Linked DNA regions of Homo sapiens: regions 1 and 3 are each linked to region 2. Evidence: promoter capture Hi-C in 16 types of primary human blood cells and fetal thymus (Javierre and others, 2016). All regions are on one chromosome and are shown on one strand. The core of a region is centred on a gene start or on the middle of the fragment in contact, and the rest is flanking DNA. Distances in the headings are between cores, read along the strand shown.

The links. Contacts are between HindIII fragments. The CHiCAGO score rates a contact against its expected background, and 5 or more counts as called.
Region 1: the fragment with the promoter of LCLAT1 here is called in contact with the fragment with the promoter of EHD3 in region 2 in 6 of 17 cell types (monocytes, fetal thymus, erythroblasts and 3 more); the score reaches 6.7 in monocytes.
Region 3: a contact is called between a fragment that was not itself captured here and the fragment with the promoter of EHD3 in region 2, in 1 of 17 cell types (monocytes). The highest score is 5.0, in monocytes.

The regions. Positions count from the first base shown.
Region 1 is chr2:30,445,146-30,449,912 of GRCh38, forward strand. LCLAT1 (lysocardiolipin acyltransferase 1) reads left to right here and starts at 2,101. Exons shown (of 6, transcript NM_001002257.3): 1 at 2,101-2,238. RefSeq lists enhancers at 1,791-2,528, 1,832-1,901, 1,942-2,001, 2,212-2,331, 2,529-3,265. The HindIII fragment of the contact is 6,952 bases long and covers 1-4,767 here.
Region 2 is chr2:31,231,243-31,235,817 of GRCh38, forward strand. It overlaps EHD3 (EH domain containing 3), which reads left to right and starts at 2,910. Exons shown (of 6, transcript NM_014600.3): 1 at 2,910-3,606. The coding sequence starts at 3,380. It also overlaps a transcript of CAPN14 not described here. The HindIII fragment of the contact is 24,555 bases long and covers 1-4,575 here.
Region 3 is chr2:30,706,407-30,710,802 of GRCh38, forward strand. No RefSeq gene overlaps it. Among named protein-coding and RNA genes, the nearest start is that of CAPN13, 99 kb to the right of the region's middle. The HindIII fragment of the contact is 8,206 bases long and covers 1-4,396 here.

The DNA.
Region 1 (4,767 bases), core at 851-3,350, 790 kb before region 2:
AAACCCCACAAAAATTCAGGAGCTTGCTACATTGGTGATATTTTAAAATAATTATTTAAAAAACTGGGGGGGTAGTTTTAGACTTAGGAGAGATGTAAAGAGAGTACAGGGATTTTTCCATATATTCTTTACCTAGCTTCCCCTTATGTCAACATCTTGTGTAAGCATAGAACATGTATCAAAACAAAGAATGATCCTGGTACAATAGCATTATGTAAACTATACATCATTTTGGATGCTGAAGTGGTCCAATGATCTTGGGCACGTCAAGACATTTTCCCCAGAATGAAAAACATGTTACTACACCTTGCACCTCTGCCAAAAAGAAAGAAGCATGACACTTAGCAGATCTCTGAGTTTAGAAATCAGCATATTTTGCCCTTGGGAATTCTGTTCCTATCCCTTTAGCAGTTGACGTGGAAGGTGGCTACTGATCAGTAGCTCAGATCAAGAACGGGCTCAGGGCCAGGCGCGGTGGCTCAAGCCTCTAATCCCAGCACTTTGAGAGGCCAAGGTGGGTGGATAGCTTGAGCTCAGGAGTTCGAGACCAGCCTGGCAACATGTTGAAATCCTGTCTCTACAAAAAACACAAAATTAGCTGGGCATGGTGGCAGATGCCTGTAGTTCCAGTTAGTCTGGAGGCTGAGGTGGGAGGATTGCTTGAGTCCAGGAGGCAGGGGTTGTAGTGGGCCACAATCATGCCACTGCACTCCAGCCTAGGTGACAGAGCGAGACCCTGTCTCAAAAAAAAAAAAAAAAAAAAAAAAAGCAAAGAAAAGAAAAAAGAAAGAGCCCAGCACTGTCCTCTGTGGTTAGGGCGGTAAGGGCAACCTTGCCTCTTGGGCTGTATCACCGGACACACCTCACAATGCTAGAGCTCTCTGCAATGGAGCTGCAAAGGCTATGAGGAACCTCCGGCAAGCCCCCAAAGAACCACAGTAGAGCCCTTGAAGGTTCTGGAGCATAGCCAGGCCAACTCTTAACAACAACAAAAAAGAATTGGGAGATCTTTTATTCCAGTAATCTTATTTTAAAGGTAAAAAGGAGGCCTAAAGTCATAGGCATAATTGGCAGAATTGACTTTTGTTCTGGTGTTTCTCTCTGTAGTCATTCTTCACTTTCTGATGCAATTTTAGCACATCTTAAATATTAAAATGTTTTGGAACAAACTTAGAGAAATTATGAAGCTAATTTAGGAAAAGAGCACAAGAATCTTTGATTTACAGGCAATTTGGGGATATAATTTAGCTATATTGAAGCTATGCAGCCAACATGTAGATGGTCATTATTATTACACCATAAATTTTGTGAGGTCAGGAACCTTGTAATTTTAAAAATATTCACTCTGTGCTTTGTTGAATAAACGGATAAAACGTATAGACATACATGAACTACTGATGAGTGGCTGTGTGTGATGTGTAGCTATGTTTATTATTTTTAAGATTCTTATTGTATTTGTTGAAGGCCAAGTTGAGGAGGGAATTGCTTAAGGGAAATGAAAAGGGGTTTAACCACAGTCCCCACCATTCAGGGGCATGCAATCTAGTAGGTTAGGGGACAGGACAGACACACCATGATAGGTGATCGAGACCTTTTAAGAGCAGTGTGATGAAATTGCTATGGGAACTGGGAGGAAACATTTTCTAGGACTGGGGAAACACTGAGTGTGCTAGAAAAACTTTGTGCTCCTGATCAGGGAACCTGGGTTCTATAACTGCTTCTACTACTGATTTGTCCTGTGACTTCGCGCACCAAATTTAGGCTTGTAAATTAAACTCCCAGATTTCTGTTTTCCATTTTGCAGCTCTAGGGGTTGAATGAACCATTAGGTTCCCTCGGACAAATGACCTCCGCTAATTTCCTATTTCGTTGTTTTCTCACCCCTACACCCCACCGTTCCGTGGGTCCCTCCTCTCCAGGAGGCCAGACGAGGAAATAAGCGAGGCCTCTTTAAAGGAGCTCTCAAAGAAAGGTACCCGGGGTATCCCGGGCTGTGGAGCAAGCGCGGGGCGCCGGGGACCCGGGTTTCCCACGCAGCCGGGGACGCCGTTGCGTCACGGCGCCTGCAGCCAATCAGGACGTAGCCTTCCGGGACGCATTACTAGGGCGACGGCCGGACGCCTCCGCGTTACGGGATGAATTAACGGCGGGTTCCGCACGGAGGTTGTGACCCCTACGGAGCCCCAGCTTGCCCACGCACCCCACTCGGCGTCGCGCGGCGTGCCCTGCTTGTCACAGGTGGGAGGCTGGAACTATCAGGTGGGGTTACGGCGCGAGGAAAATGGCGGCGGCCGGGGGATCTCAGAGGTGCAGGAAGGGGAGCTGCAGCCCGGGCTTTTCCTCCTGAGCCATGGACCTTCCCCGGGCCGCGACCTCGGGTAACGGCCACTGGCCTGGCATTTGGGGTCCCGGTGCAGGTGGCGGTAGCGTCGCTGGCTCAGGTGGAAGGAGGCGCGGGGAAGCGACTCCTGGAGGCTGGCTGAGGCGTCAGGTGCTGAGGGGCCGCGCGAGCGGCGAGGGCGAGGTAGCCGCGGGGCGAAGAGGGTCCCGTCGGTGTTTACGCTAGGAGCGTCAAAACCTTCCTCCTGCGACCTCAGCGGGTCTGGGAGCTGCACTGTCCCGGAACGCAACCTGAGGTCTGACCCTGTTAAATCCCATGCACTAAAACGTCTCAAGTGGTCACCACGTGCGGGGCTTCGACGAGAGCCGTGGAGAGCAGGGGCTGGGGTTGTCTTCCCTGCGAGTCCTGCAGGCGCCAAAGGCCTGCCTGTAGGTGCCAGAGTGGCAGTGCCGCGAAAAGAAAGGTAGGCCCTAGCCAGGGCGGATGCCAAACCTGATCTTTAAGGTGTATCGTAGCTTCTAATTGCCCATTTGAAGAAAAGAAGTTGAAAGATAAGGCACTTAGATGTGGTTGTGGAGATGTTTTGCTTTCTTGTACTTCCCTGGTTCAGGTGGCTTCCCTGGAAATACTGCATCTGCCTTTAAAGTTCATTAACTGTGTTTCTTGTGTACATGGCAGTAGATGAGATTAGGGATTGAAGTCACTTTAAGTCCAAGAAAAGTATTGAAGATATGTGTTGAAGGCATTACCAAGATGAAATATTTATTCATATCATTAACTTATTTGTTCAAAGAAACGTCATCTCATGAAGTATAACTACGTGGGTTAGTTTTCAAAAAACTGACTTGATGAAAGCCCTTTTTGTAAAACATATTTTTTGAGAGTAAGTAAAAATACATCATCACTTTTTCGTTTAGGTTTCTGTTGCACATTGTACTTTGATATGCTTGATATGACAGATAAGCATAATGTTAACTGACTTTTGTTTTTGGTAGTAGGCTTGATTTTATGGAGTAGTACCTTGTTCTGTAACTGAGAAAAACGTAATAGCGCTTGTGTTTCAGTCATCAATAGCTGCAATCTCTGGAGTGCCAACTATGTGTCAGTTTCTGTGAAAGCTAGGCTTCTCCTACTTTTTAATTTGAACACATGGTCGTCTGCATCTGCCCCCACCAGGTCTTTAGGCTGGCTGTTGCTGACAACCAGGAGGAAGCAATGGGGAAAACCCAAAAGATTCTTCCAAACTGGATCCATGGAGATTTGGTCAGTTTGTCCTGGGGTTGAGGTTATGGGTGGATTCTAGTCCAAACTCTGCCACTTAAAAATATCTTAGGGTAATCATACAACTTCACTATTGGTGTCTTATCTCTAAAGTGAGTATTTCTTATTCAAACAATCTCATTGCACTGTTGGGAGGAAAAAGAAAAGACAGTATGTGTGAAAGGGCTTTAAAAAGTTAAAAAAACAGTGAAAATATTTGAAATTTATTCCTCTGCATTCATGTACTCTGCCAGGCACTGAATCCGGGGACTTATATGTGCCAACTCAGTCATCTAGCATCACTGTGAGGCGGATACATTTATTATCTTTATTTTGCAGATGAGGAAACTGAAGCACATTGAAGTTTAAGTAATTTGTCCATATCACACAATTAGCATTGTGTTTCCAGCCTGTGTTCTTACTGTCTTACTACCACCATGCCTACTATCTTCCTATGACATACAGATGTGTTATGTATTAAGGGGAAACATTAATTCATGTACAAATTTTTCATTTTTAATATATATATTTTTCTTTTTCAAAGGCTCTAGCAATGTCCTAGAATGAACACATATTTCAAGCCAGTAGTTTTGTTTGTGATCTTGTGTAAATAATAATCATGGTTTATTCCATTGGCGTCCAATAGTGATTTGTGTGGTAACAATTACATTTACTTTGGTTAAGTGGTATATTCTTCTTACTTGTGTTGCCCATTAATTAAAAAGTTATTTTGAAACAGAGTTATGACTAATTTCTTTTTTTTTTTTTTTTGAGAGGGAGGTTCGCTCTTGTTGCCAGGGCTGGAGTGCAATGGCACGATCTCGGCTCACCACAGCCTCTGCCTCCCGGGTTCAAGCGATTCTCCTGCCTCAGCCTCCTGAGTAGCTGGGATTACAGACATGTGCCACTACGCCTGGCTAATTTTGTATTGTTAGTAGAGACGGGGTTTCTCTGTGTTGGTCAGGCTAGTCTTGAGCTCCCGACCTCAGGTGATCCGCCTGCCTCAGCCTCCCAAAGTGTTGGGATTACAGGTGTGAGCCACTGTGCCTGGCTAGTTATGACTAATTTCTATCAGGAAGCACAAATCAATAATTGGGATTTTTGTTTTTATTACATTTTTTAAAAGAATAATTTGCTGGGGGACTTTTAAAAGAAAACTGATTTTA
Region 2 (4,575 bases), core at 1,660-4,159:
GTCAATTTCCATGGAAAACCTTATTTAGATTTTGATTTCAATCATATCTCTCAATTATTGAATTTATCAATCATGTTGTAAAGAATTCACATGTTTGTGACAAGGAATCCTTCCACAATGGAACATGGCATGTCTCTCCCATTTACTTAGAACTTCTTTAACATCTTTCTATAAAGTTTTATTATTTTTCACATAAAGATCTTGCATATCTTTTGTCAGATTTATCCGTAAGTTTTTGTTCTTTTGAACACAGTATCTTTTTTGAATATTATCTTTCATGACCTTTTATTGCTAGTCTATAGAAATGCTCCATTAGTTCCTTTTTTAAACAGATAGATTTCAACTACTCAAGACTGAGACGGGAGTAGATGTGTCAACACGCACTTGGTAAATTAGATATTCGGAACAGACATTCAGCAGTAGACAATGGCATGGCCGTACTGATTACAAAATTCTTGAAATACTTCCATAATGGGGCCCCTTGATTTCTTTCCTGTCACGCTGGCCATACTGACCTCTCTCCGGGGACAGGCTCAGATCTCTCCAAGGTCCAGACGCCACTGTATTAACACCAGGCGTGGCACGGGGCCGCAAGCCTTGCTCCACTAGGAAGGCCAGTGTCTGTTCCGGGTGTTTGATTCTCATGCCTTGTGAGTTGTTAAATATCTTTAATATTACTCCTTAGGTTCGTATGTTGGTAGTAGCTAAACACCAAGGGTGAAATATTAATCTGAGTGAATTCTCAACAAGAGATGATCAGTTTTGGGGTTCAAGGAGGGAGTCGGGAGATCTGAGATGTAACTAAGGAGATTCTATTCAGCACTGGCCTCTGATAATCCCCCCTCCCCTGAAATCCCTGCAGCTTCACCACACTCCTCTTGAAGCTCCTGCAGGCACTTCAAACGCAACACGTTTTAGATTGAACACATTATCTCTGTCTGCTAAATCAGCTCTCTCTCTGCCTCCCCTAATTAGTGGAAGAGCTTCTCCAATGATCTTATCCCCTATGGTAGAAAATTCAAAATCATCCTAGACTGTGCCTCACCCTTATGTCCTCTTTTTTTTATCACATACCAAGATCTGACAATTCTATTCCATGAAAAAAATCTTTTGAGTCTGACCTCTTCTCCAATCCCATTGCAGCTGTCTCCTAAGTTTTGGAATAGTTTCCTAAATGGTCTCTTGGCCTCTGTATTCGTCTGTTTTCACACTGCTGTGAAGAAATACCTAAGACTGGGTAATTTATAAAGGAAAAAGGTTTAATTAACTCACAGTTCTGCATGCCTAGAGAGGCCTCAGGAAACTTACAGTCATGGCATAAAGGGAAGCAAACACGTCCTTCATAAGGCGGCAGGAGAGAGAAGTATGAGGAACCAAGTGGGAAGAGCCCCTTATAAAACCATCAGCTCTCACGAGAACTCACTCACTATCATGAGAACAGCATGAATGAAACTGTCCCTATGATCCAATCTCCTCCCACCAGCTCTCTCCCTAAACGCATGGGGATTATGGGGATTACAATTAGAGATGAGATTTATGCGGGGACACAAAGCAAAACCATATCAACCCCCAACCTCTTTTGCCCCTCCAACACTGCTCTTGGCATTCCAGTTCCTGCCTGGTCCATAGCCTACTCCTTCTTCATCTGTGGAAGGGAGGGTAGTGGGAGTCATTAGCCTGGGCAGGGAGGAGTGTTTTATCACTACACTGTTTAGAATGGTGCCAATACAAAGCACATCAACTTTCAGCAAGTTTATTATTGGGTTTAAATTCTCTACACACGATGCACTGCTTTTGCCTACACCTGGACAGTGTTCCCACTCACTCTCCTTAGTATGATGCTGGAGATAATATGATCTGCCATGAAGGTTAAATAAAGCAATGTTCACTGAGAACTTAGCCCAGGCCCCTGCACATGCTGAGCATTTTGTTAATGTAACAATGATTAGTAATAGCATTGCTATTGGTTCCCCATCTCTGGCAAAGCCTTTCATGCTTGGCCTCCCTCACTCTCTTTCACCTTCCTAAACCCTACACTCCAGCTATGCCAAACTGTTTACTCTGCCTTGGACACACCAAGTTCCTCAAGCCTTTGCAAATACTCCTTACGCTCCTAGAACAATGGATGTCAATTCATCATTTAGGATCCAGCTTACAGTCATGCTTTCCATGAAGCCTTCCTCAAATTAGCCACACAAAAGGAGTGACTCCTCCCTGTATTCCCATGACCCTCTGCTCATGCCTCCTCTTTAAAGCCTGCCTTCACTGGAGTTCCTGGAAGGGAGAGTCTGTTCAGCACTCATCTCTGTATCCACAGTCACCAAAATTGTAACTGCCCCATAATAAATTCCCAATACTTGCAGGGATTTTGCTTCTTGGCTTGTTTTGTTTTGCTGGAATGAATGAATAAGTAAATGGGAACGATTTTGACTTCACCCTAAGCCTAGCTAAAAGTTTGGGTAGTGACAGTTTTGGTTATTTTGTGTAACCTGATAGTGGATCCCCTTTCTATGCCAAAAAAAAAAAAAATCCCCCAATACTAGAGTACCTGTTTTCCTAGGGAATTGACCTCAGCAACTGAAGGAGAGGCGATTCAAAGCAGGGAGTGTGATGAATAGGTCAACTCTGTCCTCGCAGCCGTCCCTGAGAGGGCGCTGTTCCCAAATCGAAGCCCCAGAGGCGGAGACTGAGACACCGGCACTCTCCCACTGGACTGGGTCAGCATCCCTCTCCCCGCGCGGCCGCAGGTCTAGAGCTGAGCGCCTGCCCACAAACATGGCGGCGCCCTGCGCGGCTTCCCGTCGCCGCAACCGTGGGGCCGGCCCTGCCTTGCCAGTACTAGGGGACTTCCTCTGCGCGCCGGCTTCCTGCCCAGCTGGCATTTAAACCACCGCCTGGGGCTGCAGGATGCTGCTGCGGATGCAGAGCTGTCCGCGGGCTGGGCAGCGTCGCCGTCTCCCCTGAGCCGCCTCGGTCCGGCAGGAGCGGAGCCGAAGCATCCCTTGCTGCACGCAGGGCAGAGCAGGCGAGGGCTGGGGGCCGATCGGGGACCCCGGCTTGGGACCCCGGCATCTGGCAGTTTCCTTGCAGGTTCAACTTTAATTGCCAAGATTTCACCCCTCCTCCTCAAGCCCAGATTATTTATCCTCCCTCCGGCCTGGGCTGCTGGATGCAGCAGCGGCTGGGCTTGGTCCCAGGAGCAGGGAGAGTGCGCTCCCGGCCCTCCTAGCCGCGTGCCCGGGCCATGGTGCGGCTGAGCCCCGCGCTTGGGTGAGGCGGCGGCGCGGCTCGGAGCCCGGCGGACCGGTCCTACGGGACATCTTCCCCTGAGGAGGAGTCTTCCCCTGGGGCTGCGTGCCGGGGGCGAGCGGCGGCCGCGATGTTCAGCTGGCTGGGTACGGACGACCGCCGGAGGAAGGACCCCGAGGTTTTCCAGACGGTGAGTGAGGGGCTCAAGAAACTCTACAAGAGCAAGCTGCTGCCCTTGGAAGAGCATTACCGCTTCCACGAGTTCCACTCGCCCGCCCTGGAGGATGCCGACTTCGACAACAAGCCCATGGTTCTGCTGGTGGGCCAGTACTCCACTGGGAAGACCACCTTCATCAGGTGAGCCGGCCCAGGGTCCTGGCAGCCCACCCCGGAGCCCAGCGCCTAGTCCCTCCGGTCACTCCTGGTGCTCCATCCCAGACAGGGGACCAATGGGAAGCCTTCAGTTGAGGGCTCTGAAGAGATCTGTGTTTGTGCAGGCGTCAAAATCTTACCCCACAATTTTTGCTGGTCCCCCTTCCCATCCTACCCAATACCTGTCCACTCTACTTGGCCCTTGGCTGTGGTGGTCAACCTGAAGTATTCAAGTGTAAAGCCATTCCCAGTCTCCCCATCTTATGGATGATGAAACCGAGGCCCAGGAGGCACAATGGAAGAGCTCCTGGTCTCTGGAGCGCCTTATGTTGGTGGGGATGTCTTACGTCTTCACTTTTTAGCAACACATCATTCACGGGCAAAACCTCTTCCCTTGTTTTTCAAGGGGCTTGGCACTCACATGGGGGCCTCACAGTTGCAGCTGAGTTCTGATGGGTGCGGGCCTGGGAACGGAGGTGGCCTGGGGATGCTACTTGTCCTCCTTTTATCATTTCCTTCTCTAAAGCAGAGCTCCTGTGTATATATCTTGGAGACTCAACAGAAGCTGAGTCCAGAAGCAGAATGCTTTTTTTTTCCCCTTTCTCTTATTTGATCTTAATGGCTTAATAATAATATTAAAGACGCTTAGAGATGGAAGGGATATTGGCATTGTCTCATCCAGTTGCTGAGTTTGCAGGTGAGATAACCGAGGCGCAGAGAAGTTAAATGAATTGTGCAGAGCCATCTAAAGAGTGGGCAGCAGACCTGGGATGTTAAGTCCTAGATGCATGTGAGGAGATGCTTGGCTAAACGCCTGTAACTCTGAGAATGAGTCATCCATTCCCTTCAATTACAGAATCCTTGGGCTGGAGGGAGGCTCAAGAAGTCAATTTGTTCACCCTGCATTCAGAGAAGTCCACCAGAGGCCCTTCTTATCTTTAGAGAACAGGCTTC
Region 3 (4,396 bases), core at 883-3,382, 530 kb before region 2:
TGGTGGTCACAGACATGCTGCTCTGGCCTGGACCAGCTCAAGAGGCCCCAGCAGGGACACACATCTGCACATGTGCCTCCCCAGGGACCTTTGAGAATAAGGGGATTAGAGGTCACCAAGCAGCAAATGTGATTGCTAAAGGACCTCACTAAAAGAAGAGGATTAGCTGGGGATTTGGAGGAAGTTTCCACAAATCACTTTGGTTCCTGGTAGCAAAGATTACTTGGGGATCAGAAGAGGTCCCACTGGGCAAGGCAGAAAGAGACAAGTCATGGGATGCTTCCCTGAGGTTGCCAAGACCCTCCAGGGAGCCCAGGCTGAGGCTCAAGTCAGTGCTGGGGCCGTGGCTGACGAGCCACTCCCGGAGACTGGGCTCTGTGGGAAGGAGCCCTTCCTAGGAGCCCGATCCTGGGGCTAGTCCCCTCGCCCCTTGGCCTCACTTTCCTACCTGCCAGGTGAGATGCTGGAACCCACTCGGAGGCTCCAGCGCAGTGGGCAGGTGCCCCAGCCGGCAGGTAGTGGAGACTGGCTTTGATTCCTGGCTCCACTCCCACTAGTGGCTCCTCCCACCCGAGCCCACCTTTCATCCATATACGATGTGGATAACTGTTTCCTGCAGAAGGTCCTAAGGATGAAAATAAGGTGTTTAAGTGCTCCTCACTTGGCTATCATGGTGACAGCTCAGGTTAGTGTCACCCAAGGAGTGTCACCCAAGGGTCCTGCCCGCTCACAGTTTTGAAGTGACAGCCTGAGGAGGAGGGCTGTGGCTCCATGGCCCCATGCTGCCACCTGGAGGTCACAGGGAAGGGAATACAATGATAGAGATGGTGATGAAAATGAGCAACATGATGATGATGATAGTAGCCAATAGAGGCAAGTTCTTACCTAGGCACGACCTAACGCTTTATACGGTTTATCTCATCCAAGGACGAGATTCCAACTATCTTGTTAAATAAAGTGGCTCAGCTATTTATGTGGCCAGAGACATGACCTGTGTCATTCTATATAATACTTACAACGACCCTGTCAGAGAGAGATTTATTCTCTCTGCTAAATAGATACAGGGCAACAAGGTTCAGAGACGGTAAGTTACTTCCCAAGGTCACACAGCAAGTCAATGGCAGAGCTAAGATTGAAATTATATCTGTTTGAAGCCAAAACTCATACATGTCCCTCCACATCCTGTGCCTCCCCCAGAGATCTGGTTCCTCAACAGGCTCTGGGCCAGGGGACGGGTCTGGCAGGGAGAACAGGTGTGGCTGTGGAGGGAAGTTCAAGGGAACTCAAGAGCTGTGGTCCAGGAAGTATCCATGTTTGTCCCGGCTTCATGCTACCCTCCTTTTGCAAGGAGGCAGGTGATTGACCAGTATCAGCCAGATCCTGAGGGCAAGATCACAGCCTTGCAGACTTCAAAGCTATCCAGGCACTTTCCAAGCAAACATTCATGTTCACAAAGTCTATAGAAATGTAGATTCGCAGGCAGAACTCAGGAGGAAAAGTGCCATCTCCCATGATTAAGAAAACATTTCCATTTTTATCTGTATATTTCGTGTCTGCATGTTTTATATTTCTCCAATGCATTTAAAATATATTATTTTAGCCATGCACGGTGGCTCACGCCTGTAATCCCAGCACTTTGGGAGGCTGAGGCGGGCGGATCACAAGGTCAGGAGATCGAGACCATCGTGGCTAACACGGTGAAACCGCATCTCTACTAAAAATACAAAAAATTAGCTGGGCATGGTAGCGGGCGCCTGTAATCCCAGTTACTCAGGAGGCTGAGGCAGGAGAATGGCGTGAACTCGGGAGGCGGAGCTTGCAATGAGCCGAGATCATGCTAGTGCACTCCAGCCTGGGCGACAGAGTGAGACACCGTCTCAAAAAACAAAAACAAAAACAAAAACAAAAAAAATCATATCACATTGAAAGGACCCTCAGGGATTATCTGGCTCAAGGATAGCACTCAGTGACATATTCAGTGAAGGAAGAGAGAAAAGCTGGCCTGGGGAAACAGAGGCACAGAGAAGGGAGAGATGTTCTCAAAGTCACACAGCCACAGAATGGGGCCTGAAATGCAGGTCTGCAGACACCAGCCTGTTCTCTTCCTGCTCGGCTGAATGGCACCCATAATGGCTGCAGGGTCCACCCAGTGGGAGGAGAGGCCAGTGTGCCTGGTGAGATCATTGTGGAGCAGATGAGGACTTGAGAGCCGGGGCATAGCCCAGCCAGATTTGTGCTTTTGCCAAATAGCCAAGTCCTCTCCCATTTCTTCTGTTGGCTCTGAGAAGATCTGTCGGCTCTGAGAAGATCTGTCTGCTAGAGAGGGAGGGAGGGGCTGATCCTAGGCCTGGGCCTGTTATTCTTTCTTGAGTCATCTTTGCTGCCCTATCTCCTGAGTACTAGCAAGATCATCTGGTCCTCAGTTCTTTCACCTATCCCCACCCCGGAGGAGATGAGATGTGCTAGAAGTGAGCATCTGTCACTGCCCTCAGCCTCCTCCTGGGTTTCAGGAGGGTGATAGCCCCTCATTCAGCTACCATGGACCACACTGTGCACCAAAGACCGCGCTGGGTGCATTGACATTATCTTATTCAATTCTCACAGCAACCTCAAGAGGCAGTATTCCCAACTCCCTGCCTTTTAGATACACTTGATTTTTTCAAAACGGTTTTAGGTTCACAGCAAGGCTGAGCAGAAAGTACAGAGAGTTCCTGTATACCCTCTGCCCCCACATATGCACAGCCTCCCCGTGGCCAGCATCCCACACCAGAGTGGCACATGTGATAAAATCAGTGAGTCTATGTCTATACAGCATGATCACTCACAGTCCGAAGGTTTTTCTTCACTCTTGGTGACGTACAATCTGTGGGTTTGGACAAGTGGTAGTATTTTAAAATGCCCACTTGACAGAGGAGAGCAGCTAGGCCCCGAGGTTAGGGTCAGGGTTGAACAGCTGGGAGGTAGGTGGCAGGGATGGAGCCTTGATGGGTGGAGGAAAGGCTTCATGCTAACAAGCTCTCTCGGCCCCAGGACCCCATGGAAATGTCAATATTGTACCTGGTTTCCCAAATGAAAATCAAATAGGGCACATGGGTCTGCTTAATGGGTGATGAAGTTCCAGTGGCTCCAACAGAGGTAAAATTGATTCATATTTGTCAGGCTGGGAAACGGGAGAACTAGGCTCCAGGACCTCCTGGCCTCTTGCCTGGCAGCTCCTTTAGGCATATTTTTGGACAGGCCACACAGCTTCCTACTGAGGGCTCGCGAGGCAACAGGCGCAAGCTGGCCCCTGGAGATCAACCTGGGCAAGGCAGAGCTGCTGCTTTTGAGGTGCTCATAGCCTCGTGGAGTCACAGACGCATATGAGCTCGTTTTGGCCTGGAGTCAGCCCATGCTCACCGAGTTTTCTGCTTATTGCACTGGATGGACAGCATGGCATGGAAGAGTTTATAGGACTGAACAGGCTGGCACTTGAGACATTTCTGAGTTTTCCCCTTTTCTAGATGTGAGTTTACAGCTGGCCATTCCTACAGTGACTCATGAAAGCTGATGAGATATTTTGATATTGACGAGGTGACACAATTATTATTGAGATGGATCACTGTACCTTACAAAGGCACCATCCAGGTTTCCTGTCAATCTCTCTCACTCTCATCTCTAGACTCCTAGGCCCTCCTGGCAGGCAGTGCTGAAGCAGCCCTTCCCAGCCCAGGACAGCAGATGCTTAGCCCCTCTCGGGACTGGCCGGCTCTCCCTTGAGCAGGCACGCCTGGGCCAGGAGCTGTCTTCCTCTCCCAGAGCTGTGTGGGCCAATGGAAAGAGCATGGCTTTGGAGTACAACCAACCCGCACTCTGCTCCTTGTGTCTTCATGGCCTGGGGCAAGACCCTCCATTTCCTCATCTGAGCATTCTGGTATTAATCCTTGTAAGGGAGTTTAAGGGCTGGAGACAATGGAGCCTAATTCCTGTACATGACAGGTGCTCAAAAGCTGGTGGCTCCCATTCTGAGCTAAGTGAAGTTACCTGTGGCATGCTCTCACTCTGAAATACCTCCTGTCCAAAAATATGTCTACAGGGGCTGCCAGGCAAGAGGCCAAGGGGTCCTGGAGCCTAGTTCTCTCATCTCCCGGCCTGACAAATATGAATCAATTTCACCTCTGTTAGAGCCATTGCAACTTTATCACCCATAAAGCAGATCCGTGTGCCGTATTTGATTTTCATTTGGAAAATCAGGTACAATATTGACCTTCCCATGGGGCGCTGGGGCCAAGAGAGCTTGTTAGCATGACGCCCCTCCTCCACCCATCAAAGCCTCGGCAGCTCCTCACTTTCCACTCCTAGCCCAGTGGAGATTGGTGCTCTTCTCTTGCAGTATACTAGAGTCCTCTGGGGAGTT